3 separate regions of the Homo sapiens genome follow, and regions 2 and 3 are each linked to region 1. Evidence: promoter capture Hi-C in human tissues and cell types (Jung and others, 2019). All regions are on one chromosome and are shown on one strand. The core of a region is centred on a gene start or on the middle of the fragment in contact, and the rest is flanking DNA. Distances in the headings are between cores, read along the strand shown.

Region 1 (4,448 bases), core at 600-3,099:
CCTGTCTGTGGAAAAATTGTCTTCCACAAAACCAGTCCCTGGTGCCAAAAAGGTTGGGGACCGCTGTAGATTACCTAAATGATGTTGGGATTATACGACACGGTTGTGATTGGATTATTGTCTGCATTTTTGATAACTTCCCTTGAATAGATGTTTAGCAGCAGTATTACTGCTTCTAAGTTTCGTGTTCGTTTGTGCGGATGTTGACACCGCCAAACTGCTCTTCCCAAAAGGATATCCCAATTTGCACTCATACCAGTAGCATATGTGCAACTGTTTCACCACAGTCCTGCCAATATTGTAATTTTTAAATAGTAGATAATGCAGTCCATGAAATGTGATATGACTGAACTGGCTTTTCCTTTCTCATTTGAAAGGTAGACCATTTTTCATGTCCTGGCTTCCCTGGGTATTTGCTCTCCCAAATGCTGGCTTCTAGACCCCGCACGGAGTCTCATGCCTGTAATCTCAGCGTTTTGTGTGGTGGTGTGCGCCTGTACTCCTACGTACTCAGGAGTCCGAGGTGGGAGGATTGCTTGAGCCCAGGAGGTTGAGACTCTGGGGTGTGTGTGATCACTGTGAGCTGTGATCACACCACTGTACTCCAGCCTGGGGGACAGAGCGACACCTTGTCTGAAAAAAACAAAACAGCGCAACTCCCCCACCCTCCGCGCACACGAAATGCTTGCTTCCACTTCCCCTACCCTGGTGGGGCAGGGGCTGGAACTCCGCAGGCTATGGGAAGGTGCTGGGGTTAGCGGCCCCAGCGGGTGCTCAGTGGTGTTGAGGCCACACTGCCCTGGGCGGTCTGGCCGGGACAGTTCCCGTGCGGGCTCCCTGCGCGCTGAGCCACTGTAGGCGCCTTCCCGAAAATCTCTGAGCAGAGAGGGCCTGGAAAACAGTACTCTCTCACGCAACACTTTTCTTGGATCCATCAGGCCCTGACAGATAACGGTTTGGTTTTCTTCCCTATAGCCGTGTGACTTGTACAAGGGATTTTAGTTGTGTCCTTGGGCACGAAGCCCTAGTCACCTCTCGATTCCCCACCTATGTGGCCCCTATGGCCCCGCTGGTTCCAGGACCTCCCCTCGAAGCCTCACCCACCACCCTGGATGCAGGTGCTGGAAAAGGGAGGAGTCCCCATATTTCACGGGGACTGCCTGTGATGGCCACAGGGGAGGCTCGCCGCCCACCGGCTCTGAGCCTGAGGCCTGCTTCTAGCCTGGCCTTGGGGGCCTGGGCGAAGCGACCCAGCGCGAGGACCAGTCCCCAACCAACCCGCTCCTAGTTCTGGGCGCCTTCCCCAGCAGTCAGATGGGGGCTTCAGAGGCCGGTGCGCGGCCACATGGCCCCGGGCCAGGCAGGGGGTCGTGGGGACGCATCTGCGCTAGGCGCACAGTATTCCTGGGCGCGGGACGGGCGAAGCGCCGTGGGTTCCAAGCTGAGCTGGGTCGGCCCTGCAGCGCCGGAGAGCAAGGCGGCGCAGGGAAGGGAGATGGGGCGGGATGTGGGGAAAGCTGTCGACTGCTTGGATCTCTCCGGCCCGGATGGCGCCAGCTGCCTCCAGCTCAGCCTGCGGAAATCCGAGCTCTTCCCAGCGGCCCGACGGCCCGGGCGCCCCGCAGACCCTGGGCTCTCCCCGCGGTGCCTCCGCCGCCCGCCCCTGCGTCCTGGCCCGGCCTCCACGCCCCTCCGAGGTCCCGGCGCAGCGCGGCCGCCGCCACTCCCCCCACATTCCAGAGGCCGCAGCGCCGTCTCCTTCCTCGCATTCCTGCCCCCGCAAAGGAGTCCCTCCGCCCCGCGCGAGGCCGCGGCGAGGAGGGGGCGCGGCCCGGCGCCTGGGAGCTTACATTCCTCCGCCGCGCGCGCCGCCGAGCAGGGCGCCGCGTCCCCCGGCCCGCGCGTGGCCGCCGGAACGACCCCGGCCCGGCGCCGGCCCCGCCCCGCCCCGCGCCCAGGGGTCCCGGGGCGGGCTCCGGGCTTCGGGCGGACGATGCGGCGGCCCGGCCGGAGCGGCGGCGGGAAGCGGAGGCGGAGGTGACGCGCCAGGGCCGGCGGGCCGGGCCATGCAGCGCTCCAGGGCGGGCGCGGACGAGGCGGCCCTACTCCTGGCCGGGCTGGCCCTGCGGGAGCTGGAGCCCGGGTGCGGCTCTCCCGGTCGGGGGCGGCGGGGGCCGCGGCCTGGGCCTGGAGACGAGGCGGCGCCCGCGCTGGGCCGCAGAGGGAAGGGCAGCGGCGGCCCCGAGGCCGGGGCGGACGGACTGAGCCGCGGGGAGCGGGGTCCCCGGCGCGCGGCGGTTCCGGAGCTCAGCGCGCAGCCTGCGGGCAGCCCACGGGCCAGCCTGGCGGGGTCCGACGGCGGCGGCGGTGGCGGCAGCGCCCGATCCAGCGGCATCAGCCTGGGCTACGACCAGCGCCACGGCAGCCCGCGCTCCGGTCGCTCGGACCCGCGTCCCGGTCCCGGGCCGCCTTCGGTGGGCAGCGCCCGCTCCAGCGTTTCCAGCCTCGGCTCCCGGGGCTCGGCCGGCGCCTACGCTGACTTCCTCCCGCCCGGCGCCTGCCCCGCGCCCGCTCGCTCCCCGGAGCCTGCGGGGCCGGCTCCCTTCCCGCTGCCTGCACTCCCGCTGCCCCCTGGCCGGGAGGGCGGCCCAAGCGCGGCCGAGCGGCGGCTGGAGGCGCTCACCCGGGAGCTGGAGCGGGCGCTCGAGGCGCGCACGGCGCGGGACTACTTCGGTGAGCTCGCTCGGCCCGGCAGTTCCCTGCGCGCATGGCTGGGGTCCGGGGTTCCGAGACTGCCTCGGGTAGGCGGCCGGATCAGCGGAGGAGAGCACGGGGCTGGCTGGGGGTGCAGCAGTGCACGGGGTTGGGACGAGGAAGGTGCATCCCCTGGGGACTGGGGAGCGCAAAGGGTGAGTGAGTGCGCCTGGATCCCCAGCAGCGGCTTCACCCCTGCCTCTGGGTCCCCCGACACACGAGGGGTTCTGGCCGAGTGAGTTGATGTGCGGTTCCTAACTTAACAGGCAAGTCAGGTTCATGGGCACACTGAGCCATTTTCTGATAATTTTTTCTTCTTTCTTCTTTTTTTTTTTTCTTTCTTCTTTTTTTTTTTTTTTTGAGACAGGGTCTTCCTCTGTCGCCGAGACTGGAGTGCAGCGGCGCGTCCTCGGCTTACTGTAGCCGTCGCCTCTCAAGCTGAAGCGATCCTCTCGCCTCAGCCTCCCGAGAAGCTGGGACTACAGGTGCACACCACCATGCCCAGCTTTTCTTCTTCTTACTTTTTTTTTTTTTTTTTTTTTGTAGAGACAGAGTCTCCCTATGTTGCCCAGGCTGGTCTTAAACTCCTGGGCTCAAGCGATCCGCCCTCCTCGGCCTCCCAAGGTGCTAGGATTACAGGCTTGAGCCAGTGCGCCCGGCCTGATCTTTTCTTCTTTGCGTTTGGTGCTCTCATTCTATCTGATCCTTTCATGCTTCGTGATGAGCAGAAAGGGGTGCTTCCCCGTCTGCCCCGCCACGGTATGGGTGTGGACAGCAACCGGGAGATGGAGTGGCCCAGGTACCACCGGATACCGCCTGACCCAGGCTTTGGTGATGGTAGCGGCTGGAGAGGGAGACTGTGTGAGGGAAGAAAAGCCCACTTTGCGGGAGAGGGGAACCGTGCCAGTCACACGGGGCTGCCCTCGCCCGGACTGTGCTGTGGACATAGGATGTTTCCTAAAGGAATCCTGCTGCAGGTGCATCTGCAAAGCCCAGCAGCCTCACAGCCTCCACTTCCCAGTGTGGCCCAGGCCCCCTGATCTCTAGTTCTTGGGACAGCTCTTGGGGTGAGATTGTGAGCGGGGCAGAGGTATACTGTGGGGCCTGGGGCGAGAACTTCCCAACCCGCCTTCTGTATTAAGCACCTGGCTTTGGTGGATGGATGGTCACCATGCCTGGGACCGTGGCTGTCCTGGGGTTTGTGTCTTTGAGCGTTCAATGGTGTCAGCAGCTCACGGCTGCCCTGAACTGGATCTTTTTTTTTTTTTTTTTTTTTTTTTTTTGAGACGGAATCTCGCTCTGTCGCCAGGCTGGAGTGCAGTGGCGTGATCTTGGCTCACTGCAACCTCCGACTCCCTGGTTCAAGCGATTCTCCTGCCTCAGCCTCCCCAGTAGCTGGGATTACAGGCATGCGCCACCACGCCCAGCTAATTTTTGTATTTTTAGTAGAGGCGGGGTTTCACCATGTTGGCCAGGATGGTCTTGATCTCCTGACCTCATGATCCGCCTGCCTCAGCCTCCCAAAATGTTGGGATTACAGGCGTGAGCCACCGTGCCCGGCCCTGAACTGGATCTTGAGGGGTGAGGAGTCTGTCAGTGAGGGGCCAGGTGGGGGCATTCCAGAGAGAGGGAAGAATGAGCAGAGGAGGCCAGGCGGGATGAGAGATTGCCCCGCTCTTCCCCCTGGGGTTGCA
Region 2 (3,844 bases), core at 1,345-3,844, 200 kb after region 1:
CTCTTTTCTACAGTTTTCTGCTAGAAGACTTTCTAGATTGCCAACATTTTAAAACTGTAATTCACAATGCAACTTTGGAATGTAAGGTTATTCGGTTTATGGTTGTCAAAACTGTACCATGTGGTCTCAAGTGAAGAGATGTTTGGAGTCATCCTTGATTCTTCCTTTTGACTTATAACTCATATTCAGGTCCTCTAGTTTGGATCTAAACGATACACCGTATACAGCATCTGACCATTAGTTAGCCCATCACCACCACCACCACTACCACCCCAGTCCGAGCCACCTGGATTATTGCGGTAGCCTCCTAGCTGGATTCCCAGCATCTGCCCTTAACCCTCATCAGTCTGTTCTCAGTACAGCTGTGACCATGGTCCTATTGTTATATAAATTCCTGTCATTCCGCAACCTAAAATTTTTCAGTGGTTCTAACTGAGTCACTTCTGCAATGACCTATTTGTACAATTAGGCCATTACCTCCCTGATCCCACCTTCCTTCTCTGCCTCCTCATTCCTGTGCGCTCCAGCCTCTGTCACCAGTTGCTGTGCCATCCACGTGGAATATTCTTCCCCCACATACGCACAAGCTTGCATCCTTATCTCCTTCTGTGTTTGTTCCGTGGTTACTTTCTCAGAACAGCTTCCCTGAAAGCCTATTTGCAATTGCAGTCACCTTCCCTAGCGCTTCCACTCCTCCATCACTGCTTTGTTGTTTTCCACAGTGTGTGTCACTCACTAGCTGATGTACTGTATGTTCAGTATATGCACGTGCTCATTGTCTGTTCCTGGTGGGAGGAATGCTTTTTCTTCTTTGTTGACTGTTATAGCGTCAGTACCCAGAGTGTTACCTGGCACCAAATGGATGCTTAGTAAGTAATTGTGGAGTGAATAAGATGAGTAATGAAGAACTGGTGGGGCAGAATCATGGCATGGAAGGTGAAGCTTGCACAGGAGGGGATGTAAGTAGCAGATGTACATCTTGGGTGAAGTCTGTTTTCATGGAATAATTAAGATAATTAGAATTGAAAAACTGGTGTGGTAGTGCATGCCTGTTGTCCCAGTTACTCGGGAGGCTGATGAGGTAGGAAGATTTCTTGAGCCCTCTGGTGTAAGCCTGTAGTGAGCTATGATTATGTCACTGCACTCCAGCTTGGTGACAGAGCAAGAACCTGCCTCTTGAAAGAAAAAACAAAGTAAAGGCTAAAGTGAACTAATGCCAAAACCATTCATTGGTTCATCTTCTAAACACTTATGAAGTACCTGTTAGGAAGAGTTGTACATGGATTTTGGTGTACACTGACACACAGGACTTCATGATCTAGTGCAGTATTGTCTAAGAGAACTTTCTGCAGTGGTGGAAGTGCTGTGCATGTGTACTGATCAGTACGGTAGCCAACAGCCCCATCTGACTATTGAGTACTTGAACTGTGGCTTAAGCAATGGAGAAAATAAATTTTAAATTTTATTTAATTATTTTATTTTTACATTTTAATTAATTTAAATGTTGTAGCCAAGTTGGCTAGTGGCTCCTGTATTGAAGATTGTGGCACTGGTAGAAAAGTAAGAAAGCATGGGAAATTTAAATAAGTGCTAGGATAGATATCCTATGTTCTTTTGGGAACTGAGATGAGTGAACATCTCAAGCTGCCCAGGCAACTGAAGGGGAAGAAAGAAGCATCCCTGGCTCTAAGTTGTAATGACTGGTTTGTCAAAGATATGAGAAATGTTATTTTTATTTGGGATATAGGCAATTAACACAGTGGCAACTCCAATTAACAGGTGAATTTAGAAGAAATTTTGTGTAGCAAATTGAACTGTCAAATCTTACTTGAGGATAAGTTATTGTTTATTTGGAAAATGTGTGTTGGATTGTATCTGCTTGCCTATATAAAAAGATGAGATTTCTTCCTGTCCTTTTCATCTCAATAGTGGATCGCTTGTGAAGTGCATCAAGGTCTGATTTAGCTTATTCAGTAATAAAACTGCTTTCTTTTTTTTTCTACATTTGTGGAGAGGATTTTCTGCCATTGGAAGGCGATTCGAATTTTAATTATTTTCTCCAAACCTGAGAAAAGTAAATTCTGCCTTTAAAACCAAAGATCCATGTCACTGGTGAACATGCATGCAAAATATCCAAATAAAGTAATACAATACTGAATGAACTCTCAGAGCTAAAAAATTACCACAGTAGAGCAGTCTGTTTTACAAATCACAGACAGTAATAACTCTGTATTAAATGGCTGTACTTTTTGCACATATTATAATTTGACTAGCCAATAAGCTATTATTGAATATTTAAACTTCTAAAGTTTTACTATTTTAAATAATACTGTGAAATGAGTACTATTGAGAAGAATTTCTAAGCACATCTGTGAGCATTTCCTTAGAATATTTTCTTTGAAATCTACTCTTATTTTTTTCCCCTTCCAGGTCCTATTTAAGGACTGTCTATGGCAGGAGTCCTCAACCTTTTTGACACCAGGGATCAGTTTCGTGGAAGACAATTTTTCCACGGAAGTGGGAGGTGGTGGAGGTGATGGTTTGGGGATGAAACCGTTCTACCTCAGATCATCAGGCATTAGATTGACATAAGGAGTGTGCAACTTCGATCCCTTGCATGTGCAGTTCACAGTAGGGATTGCGCTCCTGTAAGAATCTATGCTATAGCTGATCTGACAGCAGGTGGAGCTCGGGTGATAATGCTCTTTCCTGCCACTCACCTCCTGCTGTGTTGCCCGGTTCCTAAAGGCCACAGACCAGTACCAGTCCGTGGCCCAGGTGTTAGACCCCTGATCTATGACATGAAACCATCCTTCAGTCTTTTCACCCAGGAGTCTCATATTTTAATTATTAAATGTTTGTCAGCACGAAGTTTAAGTATACACCACAAATATATTTTTCTTTTTTGTTTATGAATCAGTTATGTGTATGTTTTAGTCCATTTGTGCTGCTGTAACAAATACCCCAGACTGAGTAGTTTATAAATAATGAAAATTGACTTCTCATGGTTTTGGTGCCTGGGAAGTCCAAGATCAAGAGGCAGGCATCTGGCAAGGGCCTTCTTGCTGTGTCCTTTTGTGGTGGATGGGCAAAGAGACGAGAGAGAGGCAAAGGGGGGCCAGAACTCATTTTTTTAAATAAGGAACCCTCTTCCCTGATGATGACATTAATCCATTCATGAGGGCAGAGTCCTCAAGGCCCAATAGTCTCCTAAAGATCTAACCTCTCAATACTATTAGAATGGTGATTAAGTTCAATACATGCTTTTTTGGGGAACATAATCAAACCATATGTCTATCAGTCTTTAATATTAAGATGTCTTTTTTTTCTGAACCCATTTTTTGTGAGATTTAGTGAATCTTTCTGAGTATCATATTTGAGAGACAATTGCTTTAGCCTTATTTTTAATTACTTAGCTAGCATGTAAGCTATAAAAGATATAACTAAATACTTGACTCTGTGCTGTCAAATGTCAAATGTTGATTTTTAAAAATTCATATAATTCTAAACTTTTAACAAAATTACTGAAGCAAAGCTCTCATATTTGTCTCTCATTCTTATTGTATAAAAATTCTAAGCACATAACTGTCCCCTTTATTGTATAATTCCAACTACATAACTGTCCTATTATTACTTACCTGACATCACATTCCCAGTCATTGTCACAGCTCCTGAATCTTGTTCCATTTCTTCCACAAGCAGGCTAATTTTACCCCTTCTTCAGTGACAGAAGAGGCCTGGGCTATGGCTGAGCCTAAATATATTTGCTATTTCAGGTGACATTTAGTGATGTGGCTATAGACTTCTCTCATGAAGAGTGGGCATGCCTAGATTCTGCTCAGAG
Region 3 (4,448 bases), core at 1,068-3,567, 160 kb before region 1:
AGATATGTTTATAAAATCTAGCCATCATGCAAGAGCTAGACTGAGTGGTTGGCTCCCTAGTGGATAGAGAGCGCAGTGGTGTGGGATGGTATGGCATGGTCATCAGGGATAATGTGAAGGAGAATTGTGGGATTCTCCTCTCGTGGTGACAACCTCATGACTAAATGGTGGGCTGCAGGGAGCCGCTCCGGTGGGGGGATTCTAGCCTAGCGCAGGGTTGCTTTCCTAGTCACTCTGGTGTGGCATTCTCTATTCCTTTTCCACAGCCAGAAGAATTTAAGCTTAAATAAAAGGCAATCAAAAACAGCTCTGAAAAAGTCTGTTTTAAGGAGACTTTGCCTATAATCAGTGACATTTCTTTTGGGAGACAGAGTTTCGCTCTTGTTGCCCAGGATGGAGTATAATGGCGTGATCTTGGCTTACTGCAACCTCTGCCTCCCAGATTCAAGCCATTCTCCTGCCTCAGCCTCCCGAGTAGCTGGGATTACAGGCGCGCACCACGACGCCTGGCTAATTTTTGTATTTTTAGTAGAGATAAGGTTTCACCATGTTGGCCTGACTGGTCTTGAACTCCTGACCTCAGGTGATCCACCTGCCTTGTCCTTCCAAAATGCTGGGATTACAGGTGTGAGCCACCATGCCTGGCCATTAGTGACATTTCTTGTAGGCATTTTAATACTTATTTCTTTCCAGTATGAGAAATAAAAAATAAATCTTAGAAGTTGAGACTTTAGGACTTACTGCTCCATTTTACAGAGTAAAAGATAATTTTCTTTTTTTTGAGACGGAGTCTTGCTCCTTCGCCCAGGCTGGAGTGCAGTGGCGCAATCTCGGCTCACTGTACCCTCTGCCTCCCGGGTTCAAGCAATTCTCCTGCCTCAGCCTCCTCAGTAGCTGGGATTATAGGCACCCGCCACCACGCCCAGCTAATTTTTGTATTTTTAGTAGAGATGGGGTTTCGCCATGTTGGCCAGGATGGTCTCAAACTCCTGACCTCAGGTGATCTACCTGACTCGGCCTCCCAAAGTGCTGGGATTACAGGTGTGAGTCACCCACCTGGGCCAAAAGATAATTTTTTTAAACTATCCCAGCAGGCAAACACAGATTAAAAGATAATTTATGGTTAGCAATATAGTGATTCATTAAATAATGTCTAGTTCAAATCATTCCATAATTAACTTGGCAAAGTATTTCTTTTCTTTTTTTTTTTTTTTTTTTTTTTTTTTGAGGTGGAGTCTCGCTGTTGCCCAGGCTGGAGTGCAGTGGTGCGATGTTGGCTCACTGCAGGCTCCGCCCCCCGGGGTTCACGCCATTCTCCTGCCTCAGCCTCCCGCGTAGCTGGGACTACAGGTGCCTGCCATCTCACCTGGCTAATTTTTTGTATTTTTAGTAGAGACAGGGTTTCACTGTGTTAGCCAGGATGGTCTCGATCTCCTGACCCCGTGGTCTGCCCGCCTCAGCCTCCCAAAGTGCTGGGATTACAGGCGTGAGCCACGGCGCCCGGCCTAGTATTTCATTTTATGTTTTGGAAATTTTCTTTAATAAAATTTTCAAAACATGATTTTTCACATGTTAATATTGTCCAGTCTCTAGTTTTATTATTTCAATTTCATGCCATTTGCTGCATTGTTGTCATTTCTTTTTAATTTTCACTGTTTTCTTGCATGTTTTGGTCTGTCTTTCATGCTAAAGACTTCCTAGGGCTTTCTTTCTGTTCATCAGAAAGGCCCTGGAATGCTAATTGGAGGCTGTGTGTGGGGGTGGGACCTGTTAGCTTTATTGTAGATGGCTAAGCCCTGAGGTCCAGACCTGCACCTTGTTGCCTTGTCATGTGACTTTACAACCCTCGGTGTCCTCCTGGCTGCTGGGCCCCAGCCTCCTGACTGTTCAGCTCACACACGTGAACCTAACACCTGCCTTGGTCCCCTGCTCCATCTTCTAGACAACTCATGCTGAGGACCAGCCCACAGGAGGAGGCCTCCGAGTTCTCTCTTGACGTCTTCACCTTGACCTTTTTTGCCACCATTTTAGTCTGTCCAGGCCTTTCTGCCCTTTCTACATTCCCTTTGCTTTCAGCCAGTGATGCCACCCCCTACTACACTGAGCAAATAGAATCTCCCTGATGGCAGCCCTTCTTCCTCATGTGGCCAAGCCACCACCACTCCTGCCATCCCTCTTCACAACCATCTTTTCTTCCTTCCCCTGCCTCATGACAGCAGAGGAGGTGCCCTCTCCTCCTGTCCAGGCTTGCCCCGTGCTGGCCTTGCCCCCATCCTCGAGGGCCCAGCTTCTGTGGTGCGACCTAGTGTTTTCTCTCCCTCATCCTCAGCCTGTTCCCACCAGTACACAAAGATGCTTCCCACAGAAAAGTCCACTCTGCCCTGCCCTGTTTCTCTGCTCTTTTCTCAGCCAACTTCTTGGAGTAGTTGTCTACCTTTTTTTCACCTTTCATTCATTCTAAAAAATTACTATTTTATTTTTACTGCACCTTGTGGCTCCTTACTGCTCCTGGCACACCCCGTGGACAGTTTACTCAGAGTAGTCTAAAAAGTAATTATTATTGAAGTATTTCAGGCACATAGAACATTTCACACCCATCAGTGTATCTTCCTTTTAGCTGCCTGCCATATTTGCTCATGCCTGTTACATATTTTTAACAGAAAAATATCACCAGTGCACTTTTTTTTTTTTTTTTTTGAGACTGGGTCTTGCTCTGTTGCCCAGGCTGGAGTGCGGTAGTGATCACAGCTTACTGCAATCTTGACCTCCTCGGCTCAAGCAATCCTCCTGAGTAGCTCAGACTATAGGCATGCACCACCATGCTTGGCTAATTATTTATTTTATTTTACTTTTTATTTATTTTTTTAAAGACAGGGTCTTGCTATGTTCCCAGGCCGGTCCCAAGCTCCTAGGCTCCTGCACCCGGTCTGTAAATGCACTTGAATCCCTTTTGTACCTCTCCACTTTCTTATTCATCCCTTTGTCTCTAGAGATAACCTCTGTTGAATTTGAAGCGTGTGATCCTTGTGCATATTTTAATATTTTTTCCGTATATGAATGTATCTATACATAAGGTATTATTTTACACAGTCTGAAACTTTATATACATAATGTCATTCAGCTTGCTGAAATCTGGCTTCCACTCCTATACAAGAACATGCCTTCTCTTATCAAGGTCATTGGTGCCTTCTTCCATGTTTTCAAATCCAGGGAACCCTTTCAACAACTTTCAGCAGCTCACAGCAGTGTGGAGAATATTCCTCCTTGGAAATACTCTCAGCTTGTGACATCCAAGAACCAACCTTTCTTTCCTCTTGGGTCATCCTTTCTTCATCTAGTTTACTGGCTTCTCCTTCCTCAACACAATTTCTGAATGTGAGTTTCTCCAGGCTCAGTTCTAGCTGCCCTTCTCCCTAGGGGTTCTCCATCCAGTCTTGGGACTGAAAAACCACCTGTGTCCTTGGAGGGGGCTCAAATGTGTGTGATCAGTGAGCAGCCCACTTCCTGTGGGCTTCAGGCCCCTGAGCTCAGCTGCTACCGGGGGTCTCACAGGTGGCTCAGGCGTAGCCTCTCTCCACTCACCTGTTCCTCCCTAGACCCTCTCTATGCTAGTGAGTGGTGCCATCCCACACTGGCTTCACTTGAGAAACCTGAGATTTATCCTTCAGCATTTCCGTCATGTCTACACCCAGTCCAATCCTTAAGAAAACCCGGCAGTTCCCACCTCCAAAATCTTATCCCAGATCTGTCCCCTTCTTCCACGTCCTTCATCGCTACCCTTGTTCAGGGAATCGTTACTTCTCCCCTCCCTGTCTTGCTCGCCTTCATTTTAAAATTGGATGATGTCGCTTCTCATTTCCTTAGGGTAGCATGTGGACCCCTCAGCACGACCTGCCTAGACCTGCCTAGTCTGGCTCCTGCCTTGATGGCCAGCCTTATCAGTGGCCACCCTGCCCTCGCTCACTGGGCTCTAGTTCCTTGGATGTGTCTTTCTTTGTTACCTTGGATCCTCGGCCTGTTTCACGGACCCGTCTGTAGGTCTTGACACCCCCCACCCCACCCCACACACATGCAATTCCATTCACGACCTTCTCCTCTAATTCTCACCCTAAGTGCTGCTTTCTGGGTGTCTAGGACATTCCCTGGTATAGTCCTCTGTTTGTTTCCCGCAGTGTTTTTTCTCCATTTATAATTCTGTGTTTTCTTTGTTCACCTTTTTGGCCCTGAGGCTCTCAGCTCCAGGAAGGTAAGGAGCAGCTTTGTGCTTCAGCACGTACCTAACATACCACCTTGTGAGCTAAATATTTGACTGAAAGATTCTTAGAAAGAGTCAAACAGTTTTAAACTGTGAGACTCTTAGGCTTCAGGCAATGGTGTTTACATACAGTTTGTGAAACCAAAGCTTTGGAACTTTACGGCATTATAGCTGCTAGTCATTTTCCTGTAGT

What was found. Contacts are between HindIII fragments. The study calls those that stand out against the background at their distance.
Region 2: a contact is called between a fragment that was not itself captured here and the fragment with the promoter of WTIP in region 1, in 2 of the 25 tissues and cell types used here (mesenchymal stem cells and pancreas).
Region 3: a contact is called between a fragment that was not itself captured here and the fragment with the promoter of WTIP in region 1, in 1 of the 25 tissues and cell types used here (pancreas).

The regions. Positions count from the first base shown.
Region 1 is chr19:34,479,909-34,484,356 of GRCh38, forward strand. It overlaps WTIP (WT1 interacting protein), which reads left to right and starts at 1,850. Exons shown (of 8, transcript NM_001080436.2): 1 at 1,850-2,733. The coding sequence starts at 2,067. RefSeq lists enhancers at 923-1,577, 1,578-2,233, 2,234-2,888. The HindIII fragment of the contact is 21,139 bases long and covers 1-4,448 here.
Region 2 is chr19:34,679,001-34,682,844 of GRCh38, forward strand. It overlaps ZNF302 (zinc finger protein 302), which reads left to right. Exons shown (of 5, transcript NM_001289187.2): 3 at 3,777-3,844. Among named protein-coding and RNA genes, the nearest start is that of ZNF302, 3.2 kb to the left of the region's middle. RefSeq lists an enhancer at 302-803. The HindIII fragment of the contact is 3,661 bases long and covers 765-3,844 here.
Region 3 is chr19:34,321,825-34,326,272 of GRCh38, forward strand. The region is part of intron 3 of GARRE1 (granule associated Rac and RHOG effector 1); the gene reads left to right. Among named protein-coding and RNA genes, the nearest start is that of GPI, 41 kb to the right of the region's middle. The HindIII fragment of the contact is 5,735 bases long and covers 1-4,448 here.